Linked DNA regions of Homo sapiens: all the other regions are linked to region 1. Evidence: promoter capture Hi-C in 16 types of primary human blood cells and fetal thymus (Javierre and others, 2016). All regions are on one chromosome and are shown on one strand. The core of a region is centred on a gene start or on the middle of the fragment in contact, and the rest is flanking DNA. Distances in the headings are between cores, read along the strand shown.

Region 1 (2,550 bases), core at 35-2,534:
CATCTGTAAAGAATCTCTATTAACATAGCTAAATATTTTTCTTCCAGACCTTCCAATCCTAAAGATATTAATTAAGATCTGAAAGGGAAACATTTGTCATCTATTGTCTCTAAGGGCAGCCACTATAAGACTTCGAAAGAATTGGTCTCTACCATCTTTATTTTAACCTGAATATTCCCTTTCTATCAATCTCAGGTCTTTAGACAAAACTAGTTGTCAACCAGAAAATGTTTAAATACACCTATGGCCTGGAGGCCCTCCACTCCCCATCAGCTTTGAGTTGTCCCGCCTTGCTGGACCAAACCAATGTATTTCTTAAATGTATTTGATTGATGTTTCATGCCTCTCTAAAATGTATAAAACCAGCTGTGCTCCAACCACCTTGGGCACATGTCCTCAGGACCTCCTGAGAGCTGTGTCATAGGCCATGGTCACTCATATTTGGCTCAGAATAAATCTCTTCAAATATTTTACAGAGTTTGACTCTTTTTTTTTTCTTTTCTTTTGTTTTGAAATGGTGTTTTGCTCCTGTTGCCCAGGCTGGAGTGCAATGGCGTGATCTCGGCTCACTGCAACCTCTGCCTCCCAGGTTCAAGCGATTCACCTGCCTCGGCCTCCCAAGTAGCTGGGATTACAGGTGCCCACCACCACGCCCAGCTAATTTTTGTATTTTTAGTAGAGATGGGGTTTCACCACCTCGGCCAGGTAGGTCTTGAACTCCTGACCTCAGGTGATCCTCCCGCCTTGGCCTCCCAAAGTGCTGGGATTACAGGCGTGAGCCACCACACCCAGCTGACTCGTTTCATCGACAATAACAAACTGCCTAGTAAAACTTCAGATACTGGCTACCTAATCATAACTATCTGGCCACCAGTTTCACTAGATACTCTTTCACCTCTCAACGAAAGTCCCACAGTTCACAATGTTATAAGTGGCTTTCTTCAGAGAAGTTTCTGTGTAACATAGCATAACCCTCCAGGGACTTCCCAGAACTTTGTCAGAAATTGAGTGCAGAAGCCAGGTCTCTCGTTGTCTACTGATAGCACCAGATAACCCCTTTCTGGGGTCACCTCACTCTAGGGTCTTGCACTTCTTCTGTGCCCTGGAGTCAGCCTTTGATGTTTGTAGCCTTTGCTTGAGGCCACTGTCTGAATAAACTCAAGTGTTCCAGATGAGAAGATACAGGAACAAGTTCACATAATAAGGCTATTCCCCATCACCACCTCCACTACCAATCAGCTGGAGCCTTGCAGCTCCCCCTGCTATTCCTTTCTCCACTGCTGCAGATTTCCAGGGCCCTGAGGAAAGGAGGACTCAGACTCTGCTCTTCAGATCCACACACTGATCCCAACTACAACCAGTGACCTGAACTTGGAGTCTGAGTAGGGTAAGAAGGGCTCTGCTGAGGATGTTTGGGGGACAGCCAGGAGCACTGAAAGGAGGCTGATTGAACTTTTAGATAGCAAACAATGGAGAAGGATCCAAATCATGGAAAACAAAGGTGTGAATTCTGGTCAGCCTCAGTCCCACTGATACAGGCTTTCCCTGCCCCTCCCTTCCTTCACCCCCAGTCTTCTCAAACACAATGCATTAAAACCGCTTACATCCTGCTCTTCTATCCTCTGTAGGTCTTTATCATCAGGACAGGGTTCCACAGATAGGAAGTACCGACCCTTTGTTCTGTGTCTGATGTGGACATTTGACATCATTAGAAGTGCTCTCAAATACATGCGTCTCATTAGACACTTGCAGGTCTGTAGGGAGCTATTATTAAGTCCATCTGAGGACACCAATGCTCAGAGTTGTGAATCAGGTTAGAGATTCAGTAAGGGCGGGAACACTTCTCATGGTAAATGAGGACAGAGCACTAGTTTAAACGGTAGACTCTTTCAAAAAGATCCCCACACTCCATGCTATCACCACAGAAGCCACTGTGGGGGCTCTTTTAGTCTTGGTGCTTGATTGATTACAGGAATATTTCAAATCTGGAATTCTGGTTGGGTGTAGTGGCTCATGCCTGAGAATCCCAGCACTTTGGGAAACCGAGGTGGGTAGATTACTTGAGGCCAGGATTTTGATACTAGCCTGGCCAACATGGCGAAACATTGTCTCTACTAAAAAAAATACAAAAATTAGCTGTGTGTGGTGGCAGGCACCTATAATCTCAGCTACGTGGGAGGCTGAGACAGAGAATCTATTGAACCCTGGAGGTGAAGGTTGCAGTGAGCCAAGACTGTGCCACTGCACTCCAGCCTGGGTGACACAGTGAGACTCTGTCTCAAAAATAAATAAACAAATAAAAACCTCAAAACTGGAGTTATTTTATGATGACATTTTCAAGGAGCAGCTCTGACAAACCAAGATCATTTGTAATAGTGATAATTAGGGGAATGACCCCTGAGAAGGAATATGGGTAGTTAGTAATGAACATACGTTCCACTCAGGCTTTGGAGAAAGTGTTATAAGGAAGTCAAGATTGGAGAAGCATCATTAAGTAATTGGAGAAGCAGGCAAGAAGTAATTGCAGGCTAGGCTGTCATTTTAGCGAAT
Region 2 (2,550 bases), core at 33-2,532, 450 kb before region 1:
TAAGACAACCACAAATTATCGTCTCCTGGTACATACACCCTTGTGTAACTCCCTATCCCCTTGCACGTGGGCAGGACCTGTGACTAGAATACTACAGAAAATGTGACAGGTTGTCACTTCATAAGTATATTACCTAAGACTATAAGGTCTGTCTTACTAGGAGACACACTCCCTTGCTGGCTTTGAGGAAGCAAGCAGTCATGTCAGGAAGGCCCAAGAGACAAGTAACTAAGAACAGCCTCTGGCCAATAGCCAGCAAAAAATTGAGGACCCAATGAATCTAGACAGATCTTATACTTTTCACAAAAATAAACTCAAAATGGTTCACAGACTTAAACATAAAATGCAAAACTATGAAACTCCCAGAAGATAACATAGGGTAAAATCCAGGTGGATCTTGGATTTGGCAGTGACTTTTAAAATACACCAAAGGTATAATCCGTGAAAGAGAAAATTGATAAGCAGGACTTCATTAAACTTAAAAATCTCTGCTCTGTGAAAGACCCTGTAAGAGAATAAAAAGACAAGCCACAGATCAGGAGAGTATATTTGCAAAAGATAGCTCTGATAAAGGATCAAAGAATACTTCAAACTCAACAGTAAGGATAAAAAGAACACTTAAAACTCAACAATAAGAAAACAATTTAAAAATAGACCAAGAACTCGGCCGGGCGCGGTGGCTCATGCCTGTAATCCCAGCACTTTGGGAGGCAGAGGTGGGCGGATCATGAGGTCAGGAGATCGAGACCATCCTGGCTAACACGGTGAAACCCCGCCTCTACTAAAAATACAAAAAATTAGCCGGGCGTGGTGGCGGGCGCCTGTAGTCCCAGCTACTCGGGAGGCTGAGGCAGGAGAATGGCGTGAACCCGGGAGGCAGAGCTTGCAGTGAGCTGAGATCGCGCCACTGCACTCCAGCCTGGACAACAAAGCGAGACTCCGTCTCAAAAAAAAAAAAAAAAAAAGACCAAGAACTTCATATACACCTCACCAAAAAAAAAAAAAAAAAAAAAAAAAAAAGGCAAAAAAGCATATGAAAAGATGCTCCACATCATATGTCATCAGAGACATGCAAATTAAAATGAGACACCACTATACACCTATTAAAATGGCCAAGACCCAGAACATGGACAATACCAACTTCTGGCAAAGATGTGGAGCAACAGGAATTCTCATTCATTGCTGCTGGCAATATAAAATGGTATAGCCACTTTGGAAGACAATTTGGCAGTTGCTTACAAAAATAAACATACTCTCACCACATAAGCCAGCAAAAACACTATTTGGTATTTAACCAAAGGAGTTGAAAAATAGAGGAGCATGTAAGAGAAACAACTTACCCAGAAAAATATAATAAAAAGTTACTTGACAGATGACAAACATCCTTAAGAAGTATAAGTGTATATGTAAGATATAACAATACATTCAAGGACATGCTTAAAGTCATCCACAGGGAGGTCTTTCAAAGGAAATACTAAAAGTAGAAATCATAAAGGGAAAAAGTTAAGGATGCGTATTTGATAAGAATGCTTATCATAGCATTTTAATAACTTGGAAATAAATTATGATACAATATAACCATTAAAATATGATTATAGAATAGTTAACTAAAAAATATTTAACAAGATATTCATACCAAGTGAAGCACAGGCTACTCAGGAGGCTGAGGCGGGAGAATGGCTTGAACCCAGGAGTTAGAGACTAGCCTGGGCAACACAAGAAAACCCCGTCTCAAAAGGAAGAAAAATTCATACCAGATATAATATACTGTCAACTCTTAACAATAAAAGTGTGTGTGTTATCTTACTTTTATACAGAAGAGAGAGAGAGTGTGTGAGTGTGTGTGTGTGTATACCCAAAATATAAACAATGGTTATCTCTGAGTGATGGAATTATGAGTGCTTTAATTTTCTTCCTTTTGATTTTCAACAATAAACAGTATTGCTTTTGAAAACAATTTAATAAAAAGAGTTTCTCATATACTCATAAAAAATTAATAATAATACAATGAAGGAAAGACACTAGAAGTTCCCACAAATGCCATAAATCACATGCTCAAGAGAAACTAGACTAAGCACTAACCTGATATGTCCAGAAGGCCAGCGCTCGGGAGCTAATGTCCAACACGATCTCTGGTCGCAGTCCTGCCAATACCATAGCTTTATATTCCTCTGATGGACTGAGTTCTGTGCGGACAATATCTAGCTTTCCAGAAAGGGTACTGTTGCAGGCAGGACAGATAGCTGGTGAGCGACTAAACTCACCACTGCCATGCTGATCACAGAAGATGTGAGAGCAGGCAGTGACCCATGCATAGCCAGAGAGTTTGATGCGACACTTTCGATAATTACAAAGCAGCATGTCTTCACACAAAGACATAATAGGATAGTGAGGTCTCCAGAAGCTGAAGAGAGGCCTAAGAAGGGGTAAATAAAAAGGCCAAGTAAGTTAAATTGCAATGAAAATAAAAGTAAAAAAGAAATATAACATGCACGTTTTTATCATAAAATACTGCACATTTTATTATATTCCTTGTATTTATTATAATTG
Region 3 (2,550 bases), core at 37-2,536, 410 kb before region 1:
GCAGTGGCACAATCTTCCCTTAATGCAACCTCTGCCTCCCGGGTTCAAGTGATTTTCCGGCCTCAGCCTCCCAAGTAGCTGGGATTACAGGTGTGCACCGCCACACCCAGCTAATTTTTGTATTTTTAGTAGAGATGGGGTTTCACCATGTTGGCAGGCTGGTCTTGAACTCCTGACCTCAAGGCCCACCTCAGTCTCCCAAAGTGCTGGGATTACACACTTGAGCCACCATACCCAGCTAAGACCTATTTATTTAGGTCTTGAATTTCTGTCAACAGTTCTGTAGTTTTCAATCTACAAGTGTTCGTAGATTGGAAAATTTATTATTAAAATGGTAATACTTCCCAGAGCAACCTATAGATTCCATACAATTCCTATTAAAATTCCATTATCCTTTTTTTTTGCAGAAATGGCCAAGAAAAATTCATAAGGAATTACAAAGATCATGAATAACAAAAACAATCTTGAAAAAGCTACAGTACTCAAGACAATGTGATAATGACATAGGATAGACATAGAAATCAATGGGATAGAATTGAGAGTCTGGATATAAACCCAAGCAAATATGGTCAATTGGTTTTCAACAAGGGTGCCAAGACCATTCAATGGGGGAAAAATAGTCTTTTCAACAAATGGTGCTGGGACGACTTGGATATCCACATGCAAAGTAATAAATTAGGAACACTATCTCACACTACGTAAAAATTAAAATGGATCAAAGGCCTAAATGTAAGCTAAAACTAAAAAGCTCTTAGAGCATAAGGAGAAATCTCTGTGACCTTGGATTAAGCAACAGTTTCTTAAATATGACACCAATGCACAAGCAAGCAAAAGAAATAAGTTGGTCTTCGTCAAAATTTAAAACTCTTGGCCGGGTGTGGTGGCTCACGCCTGTAATTCCAGCACTTTGGGAGCCAGAGGCAGGCAGATCATCTGAGGTCAGGAGTTTGAGACCAGCCTGGCCAACATGGTGAAACCCCATCTCTAGCAAAAATATGAAAAATTAGCCAGGCGTGGTGGCATTTGCCTGTAATTCCAGCTACTCAGGAGGCTAAGGCCTGAGACTAACAAATCTCGGCAAAGATATGGACAAATAAAAATCCTCACACATTGCTAGTGCGAATATAAAGTGGTGCAGCTGCTTTGGAAAAGCTTGGCAGTTCCTCAAATAGTTGAACATAAGAGTTATCAGGACCTAGCAATTCCACTACTAGGTGTATAACCAAGAGAATAAAAAAGCAATGTTCACACAAAAATTTGTACATGCATATTGATAGCAACAATATTTATAATAGCCAAGAAGTAGAAACACTCCAAACATCCATCAACCAATAAATGGATAAACAAAATGTGGTTTATTCCTGTTAGATATGTTAACTATCTTGACCGTGGTAATAATTTTATTAATATATATATATGTCAAGCTTTATCGAATTGTGTATTTTAAATATGTGTGGTTTATTGCATGCCAATCATAACTCAATAAAGCTGTAAAAACATAAAAAGTATATCCATCCAATGCAATATTATTCCGTCATAAAATGGAATGAAGTACTGATACTGCATGGATGAACCTTGAAAACATTATTCTAATTGAAAGAAGCCACACAGGTCACATATTATATGATTCCATTTATCCGAAATGTCCAGACTAGGCAAATTCATAGATACAGAAAGTAGATTAGTGGTTGCCAGTGGCTGGAGGAAGAGAGAGGGGAGTGATTGCTAATGGAGTCAAGGTTTCTTGGTGGGGTGATTAAAATGTTCCAGGATTAGCGGTAATGGTTGCATAATTTGTGAATATACTAAGAACCACAGAACCGTACACTTCATAAGGGTGAAAATGAATTACAGGCCAGGCACGGTGGCTTACGCCTGTAATCCCAGCATTTTGGGAGGCCAGGGCGGGTGAATCACTTGAGGCCAGGAGTTCAAGACCAGCCCGGCCAACATGGTGAAACCCTGTCTCTACTAAAAATACAAAAATTAGCCGGGCGTGATGGCACATGCCTGTAATCCCAGCTAGTCAGGAGGCTGAAGCAGGAGAATCGCTTGAACCCAGGAGGCGGAGGTTGCAGTGAGTCAAGATCACACCACTGTACTCCAGCCTGGGCAACAGAGTAAGACCCTGTCTCAAAAAAACCAGACAAACAAACAAACAACAACAAAAAGAAAATGAATTATATCACAATAAAAATATACCAAGTTTTTGTAATATAAATATATATATATATATAGGGGGATCACTTGAACCCAGGAGTTTGAGAGTACAGTGAGCTCTGATCATGTCACTGCACTCCAGCCTGGGTGACAGAGCAAGATCCAGTCTCAAAAAAAGAAAGGAAATCAGAAATAATTTCAATAACTAAATGTCAAAGGGAAATAGAAAGTATCAGGGAAAATGGAGGTGAATAGAAAATCATGATTAGAAAACCGCACTAATAATACTGCAGTCAAGATCCATGGATGAATGCTAAGATTAGTCGGGAAAATGATATTTGCATAGCCTCAAAAAACCTACCTCCAGATGTATAAATTTCTTTGATACCT
Region 4 (2,550 bases), core at 35-2,534, 280 kb after region 1:
CCGGCTAATTTTTGTATTTTTAGTAAAGACTGGGTTTCACCATGTTGGTCAGGCTGCTCTTGAACTCCTGACCTCATGTTCTGCCTGCCTTGGCCTCCCAAAGTGTTGGGATTACAGGTGAGCCACTGTGCCCAGCCCAGATATCTTTCAAGATCAAATCATACATGGACTGGCAAATCAATCTGCAAATGGGCAGACCCCCGGATTTGAGACAAAAGCATGTTCATCCAAAAGAGTATTAAGTGCCCGTAATCCTGACACGTTGCATTTCTGACCTTCACCTGAATGCTCATATTGTATCATTGAGATGGGAAAAAAACAGTACATGAGGAATTGATGGCAAACTAGTCAAGCATGTCCCTGGCCGTGCCATTGGCTGCTGGAAACATAAATAAGGATATGCAACAAGAAAAAGGGCCTGGACCTCCCATCTGCTACTCCGGACCAGGGTGAAAACATTACAGAGATCCTGTTTGGTGGAGCTCCGGGTGGGCCTGAGATATCCCAAGCATTTATCTTTGGTAAGGGTTACCACTTTTTACCCTTGAATTTGGCATATCCAGAACAGGATCTTCATGGTCAACTAGAACCTGCAGAGCAATGCTTCCCAGAATTTCCCCTGAAGTGCTAGTAACCACAGAGGAAGATGAACTAAAACACCTAAAGTAGTGCCCAATGAGCTTGGGCTTTCTCTGAAGCTTCTTTCACTTAACTAATATTTATAAAATAGCCGTGCATATGAGTGTTTTATATGCTATCTTTAAATTTCATTTGTGGTAATAATAATAATGGATCAATGTCAATTTCCCCTTTTTGGTGGCTGTACTGTGGTTATGCACACGAGAGTACTTGTAATTAGGAAATAGTCACTGAAGTATTAAGGGGTAATGAGCATCATGTCTGTAACTTGTTCTGAAATAGCTCAGAAATGTTAATAATTGGGGAACTGGGTGAAGCATATAGGGGAGCTCTGTGTATGCTTTCTGAAACTTTTATATACGTTTTAAATTATTTCAAAGTGAAAATGCTAAAAAAATTTAATGTAACTCATTTGAATTTTTCTATCATACAAAGTTATTTTCTGTAAAAATAATGCCTTAAATTACTCCCCATCCCCTAAAAAGATGGTTTTAGTAAAATTGTAAAGAACACATTTATCTTGTGACTTTGTGTACCCTCTGCACACATCTGTGTTCCACCTGGGGTAGCAGTACACTGGCTCTAATGTTTTCCTTAACTTGCTCTTTGTGGATTTCTGTCTCTGACCAGTGTTTCTTTTCAAGAACTGGTTGAGGAAGATAGGGTAGTCATGGGGCTAGGGCATTGGAAAGGTCCTTTTCATGCTGAAAAATGAGAAAATAGACATAGAGCACTTGGAACAGTGACTGGAACATAGAAAAGCCTCAGTAAATGTTAACTATGATTGTTTTTATCGTTATGACCCCTATCATTCCTAGCAGGGCTGAAGGCTGCACGCAGCCTTGTTGTGGTAAGTCAGAGGTCTCAGGAGGGCAGCCGGCCTATGAGGGGAACTGGCGTATCCAGGGAGCCATATGCCTCAGCTCTGGTTGGGTTGAAGACTACATCCTCTCCCTCATGAAGATGAATCCAGGAGTGAGGAACAAAGGGAGACAGTCCTCCCGCAGAGACAAGCTCATAGTGCAAATGGGCACCATAGGAAGGCCTCAAAGAACTACATAGAAAAGAAAAATGGACCTGGCAGGAGACAGGGTTAGCCACTGGAAACAGAGGAGGGCTTCCCAAAAGGAATGTGGCCACTGGATTCCATGTGATGGAGCTCTGCTTCTCAGAGCCATAAACCAGGGCCCAGACCACAGGTCTGTCACCACCAGGAGGCTGTTTGAAGGTTGAAGCTTGAAAAACCCTATGGGGGTGGCACTTGTAGTTCAAAGACGACCCTCGTGGTACTGCTGTCCTTCAGGCCAGCAAACCAGGCAAACTTCTCTGGCACCCTCGCTCAGCCCTCCTGGGGTATCCTGAAAGAATGGGTCTTTGGGAGATAGTTGCTTATTCTCTGCTCCCCTTCTTTCAAGGCACCTTCAGAGTCTACTATTAGGCCTCTCCTTCATACTAGTAAGGTGCTGGCTACTTACTAGCACTTTGATGTTTTTTCTTGTGTCACACAAGTGTCAGAACCAGGGGGCATTTTAGACATTATTCAACTGAAACTCCTTGTGTTATAAATAGTAAGAAGACTGAGAGGATCAGAGTGATGACTGAGTTCAATGCACGGTTACTGAGTGCTCCTGTGAGCTAGCCATGTGCCTGGCACTATGAAGACAGAGAAGCACGGAAGGACCTGATTCCTGTCCCACGAGTTTACCGTCTAGTTGGGAAGACTGGATGCTCTTACTGGATGAAAGAGTTAAATAGCAAAACAAGGTAGTACACGATTTAGAACCCAAATGAGTGATACTATGAAACAGTTAATGCTAAAGGAGGTTAGGATTTGTACGGCAAGGTTCGTAAATGTGATCCTGAGCAAACTCATATGGTCAAGATGAGTTCTAAAGGATGGATAATATTTGA
Region 5 (2,550 bases), core at 37-2,536, 280 kb before region 1:
TGGTAAACAGAAGATGAAAGGAGGTAGTGAAGAACTGTCTTCTATTAATATTATTATTATGATTTTTTTAAGAGATAGAATCTTGATCTGTTACCCAGGCTCTGTGGAATGCACTAGTATGATCATAGCTCTCTGCATCCTTGAACTCCAAGGCTCAAGCAATCCTCTTGCCTCAAACTCCTGAGTAGCTGGGACTACAGGCACATATCACCACACCCAGCTGATTAAAAAAAATTTTTTTTGTAGAAACAAAGTCTTGCTATGTTGCCCAGGCTGGTCTCGAATTCCTGGCCTCAAGTGATCCTAGCACCTCGGCCTCCTAAAGTATTGGGATTACAGGCATGAGCCAACGTACCTGGCCTTATATTATTTTTAAACTTATTTATATAGAAGAATCAAATTTACTCTGTGCAACTTTGGAGAGTTGACTAGGACAGGAGAGCCCACTCAATATTAGAAAAAGAGCTCTACAAAAAAGACATTGTTACGTTACATTCCTGAAATGTTGAAATAGGGGCTAGAGGAATATTTGACAAAGCTGTAGAGAGAAATAGTTGACCTTATGACCTCTAAAATTCTTTTCAAGATATTTTATCTGCAAAAACCTGAATAGCAACAACTATAGTTCCACAACACTCTAGTTCTACAGAAGGAGGGTGGGATGTTACACTGTGCTTTCATGTTTCAATAATTATATATCTATCCATGCATGTCCACTTCTGCTTGATGCCACTGAAGTGGGACCTGAGGAGCTGGGGTGCTAGGGCAGAAAGAGTAAGGTCTGTGCCCGATCCTAGACAAAAGTGGAAGCAATTCACTGCTTCATCCATCACGGAAGGGCAACTCTTTAGCTTAGCAAACTGAGAAATTTTCAGGCTCAACACCAGCAGGAATTCAATTTGCAGCAAGATAGACCTCAGGGGATTGAGGCAATGATTCAGAGAGGATGGGTGGGGTAGGGTTACACAGGAACTTTAGAGAAAGAATCGTTTGTGGGTGGAAGCCTTGGGCAGAGGTGCACTCAGTAGAGAAGAAAGCCATTTGTTCCAGAACAGCAGTTTGAAAGGGGTGTGTTTTGTGTGGGCAATGGTGTATGAGGAAAGGGTTTGTGGGGAAGAAGCGTGTGGGGCTACTAACAGGCACAGAAACACTTGTTGAGAAATGTTGTTCATAGGGGGATTGCTTTGCTGGGGCCCAGGAGCAGGTGGTTTGGTGCAGTGAAAGAGGCCAGAGGGGCAGAAAGAAGGGTCCTAGCTGTGGCCTTAAACACACACATACACACACACACACACACACACACCAAAAAGCAAGGAAGAACCCCTTATCCTCTCAGCCAAGATAAGCAAGCGCTGTTACCAGCTAGGTGTGCTTACTATGGATTTTATACATTTTAGAGAAAATTTCTAATGCCCATTTGTCCTGAACTTTTTACTTGGAATATCGTTAAGTTTACGGAAAAGTAGAAAGGATCATGTAATGAACACTAGTGTACCTCTCACCTAAACCATCAATAGTCAATAATCTGCTACATACATTTGTTTTCTCCTGAGCCATTTGAAAGTAAATTGCTGCAGACAATTTGCCTATCAGTCCATTTTTGAATATATTGGCACGCATCTCTAAGAATAAGGACATTCTCTTACATAATAGCATTGCCATTATGAAGATCTTACCTATGAAGATCCACATTAATTCATAAGATCTGCATGTGTGTTACTTATCAGTACGTCTTATAATGGATTCTGAATGCTTTCCCTTTTCTTATTTCTCTAGCTGTCATCTTTGAAGGTAAAACCTCGACTGCATATCTGGCCAGCCAGGCCAGGCCAAAGTACCTGTATACTGGGTGAGGGGATAAGAAAGACTCTCTCAAAGAGCACAGGAACCTGGAAGCCTGTCAGAGGTCACCTCTCACGGAAGCCCAGGACGCTTCCTTCCTGCTGAGCTAATCTTAACTGCTGACCTCCACGCATTGCTCAGGGCTCCCTCCCTCCCTTCTTCCCTATTTCCTTCCTTCCCTTTCCTCTCCTTTCCTGTCTCTTTCACCAAACCTTAACGGACAACTCTTCTGTGCTAACTTCTGTGCCAGTGTATTAGTCCGTTTTCATGTTGCTGATAAAGACATATCAGAGACTGGGAAGAAAAGGTGGTTTAATTTGACTTACAGTTCCACATGGCTGGGGAGGTCTCACAATCATGGCAGAGGGTGAAAGGCACTTCTTACTTGGAGGAGGCAAGAGGGAATGAGGAAGATGCAAAAGTGGAAACCCCTGATAAAACCATCAGATCTCGTGAGACTTATTCACTACCACGACCAAACCATATCAGCCAGTATCTGCCATCCCAAGTGAACTTAGTCTGTGAACTCAAAATAGTGCTGGCCAGGCATGGTGGCTCACGTCTGTAATCCCAGCGCTTTGGGCGGCCAAGGCGGGGGGATCATGAGGTCAGGAGATCGAGACCATCCTGGCTGACATGGCGAAACCCTGTCTCCACTAAAATACAAAAAAATTAGCAGGGCATGGTGGCACATGCCTGTAGTCCCAGCTA

Evidence for each region. The method cuts DNA at HindIII sites, captures the fragments that hold promoters and counts their contacts. A CHiCAGO score of 5 or more calls a contact.
Region 2: a fragment that was not itself captured here is called in contact with the fragment with the promoter of EDDM3B in region 1 in 1 of 17 cell types (neutrophils); the score reaches 5.3 in neutrophils.
Region 3: a fragment that was not itself captured here is called in contact with the fragment with the promoter of EDDM3B in region 1 in 1 of 17 cell types (total B cells); the score reaches 5.9 in total B cells.
Region 4: a fragment that was not itself captured here is called in contact with the fragment with the promoter of EDDM3B in region 1 in 1 of 17 cell types (M1 macrophages); the score reaches 5.1 in M1 macrophages.
Region 5: a fragment that was not itself captured here is called in contact with the fragment with the promoter of EDDM3B in region 1 in 1 of 17 cell types (M2 macrophages); the score reaches 5.0 in M2 macrophages.

Annotation. Positions count from the first base shown.
Region 1 is chr14:20,767,120-20,769,669 of GRCh38, forward strand. It overlaps EDDM3B (epididymal protein 3B), which reads left to right and starts at 1,285. Exons shown (of 2, transcript NM_022360.5): 1 at 1,285-1,387. All of the region lies in intron 1 of LOC107984671 (a long non-coding RNA gene), which reads right to left. RefSeq lists an enhancer at 993-1,272. The HindIII fragment of the contact is 10,803 bases long and covers 1-2,550 here.
Region 2 is chr14:20,314,145-20,316,694 of GRCh38, forward strand. It overlaps CCNB1IP1 (cyclin B1 interacting protein 1), which reads right to left. Exons shown (of 7, transcript NM_021178.5): 5 at 2,083-2,416. The coding sequence starts at 2,379. Among named protein-coding and RNA genes, the nearest start is that of SNORA79B, 7.9 kb to the right of the region's middle. The HindIII fragment of the contact is 4,318 bases long and covers 1-2,550 here.
Region 3 is chr14:20,360,568-20,363,117 of GRCh38, forward strand. No RefSeq gene overlaps it. Among named protein-coding and RNA genes, the nearest start is that of PARP2, 18 kb to the left of the region's middle. The HindIII fragment of the contact is 272 bases long and covers 1,151-1,422 here.
Region 4 is chr14:21,049,936-21,052,485 of GRCh38, forward strand. It overlaps a transcript of NDRG2 not described here. Among named protein-coding and RNA genes, the nearest start is that of RNASE8, 6.6 kb to the right of the region's middle. The HindIII fragment of the contact is 1,176 bases long and covers 697-1,872 here.
Region 5 is chr14:20,488,776-20,491,325 of GRCh38, forward strand. No RefSeq gene overlaps it. Among named protein-coding and RNA genes, the nearest start is that of RNASE10, 15 kb to the right of the region's middle. The HindIII fragment of the contact is 5,077 bases long and covers 1-2,550 here.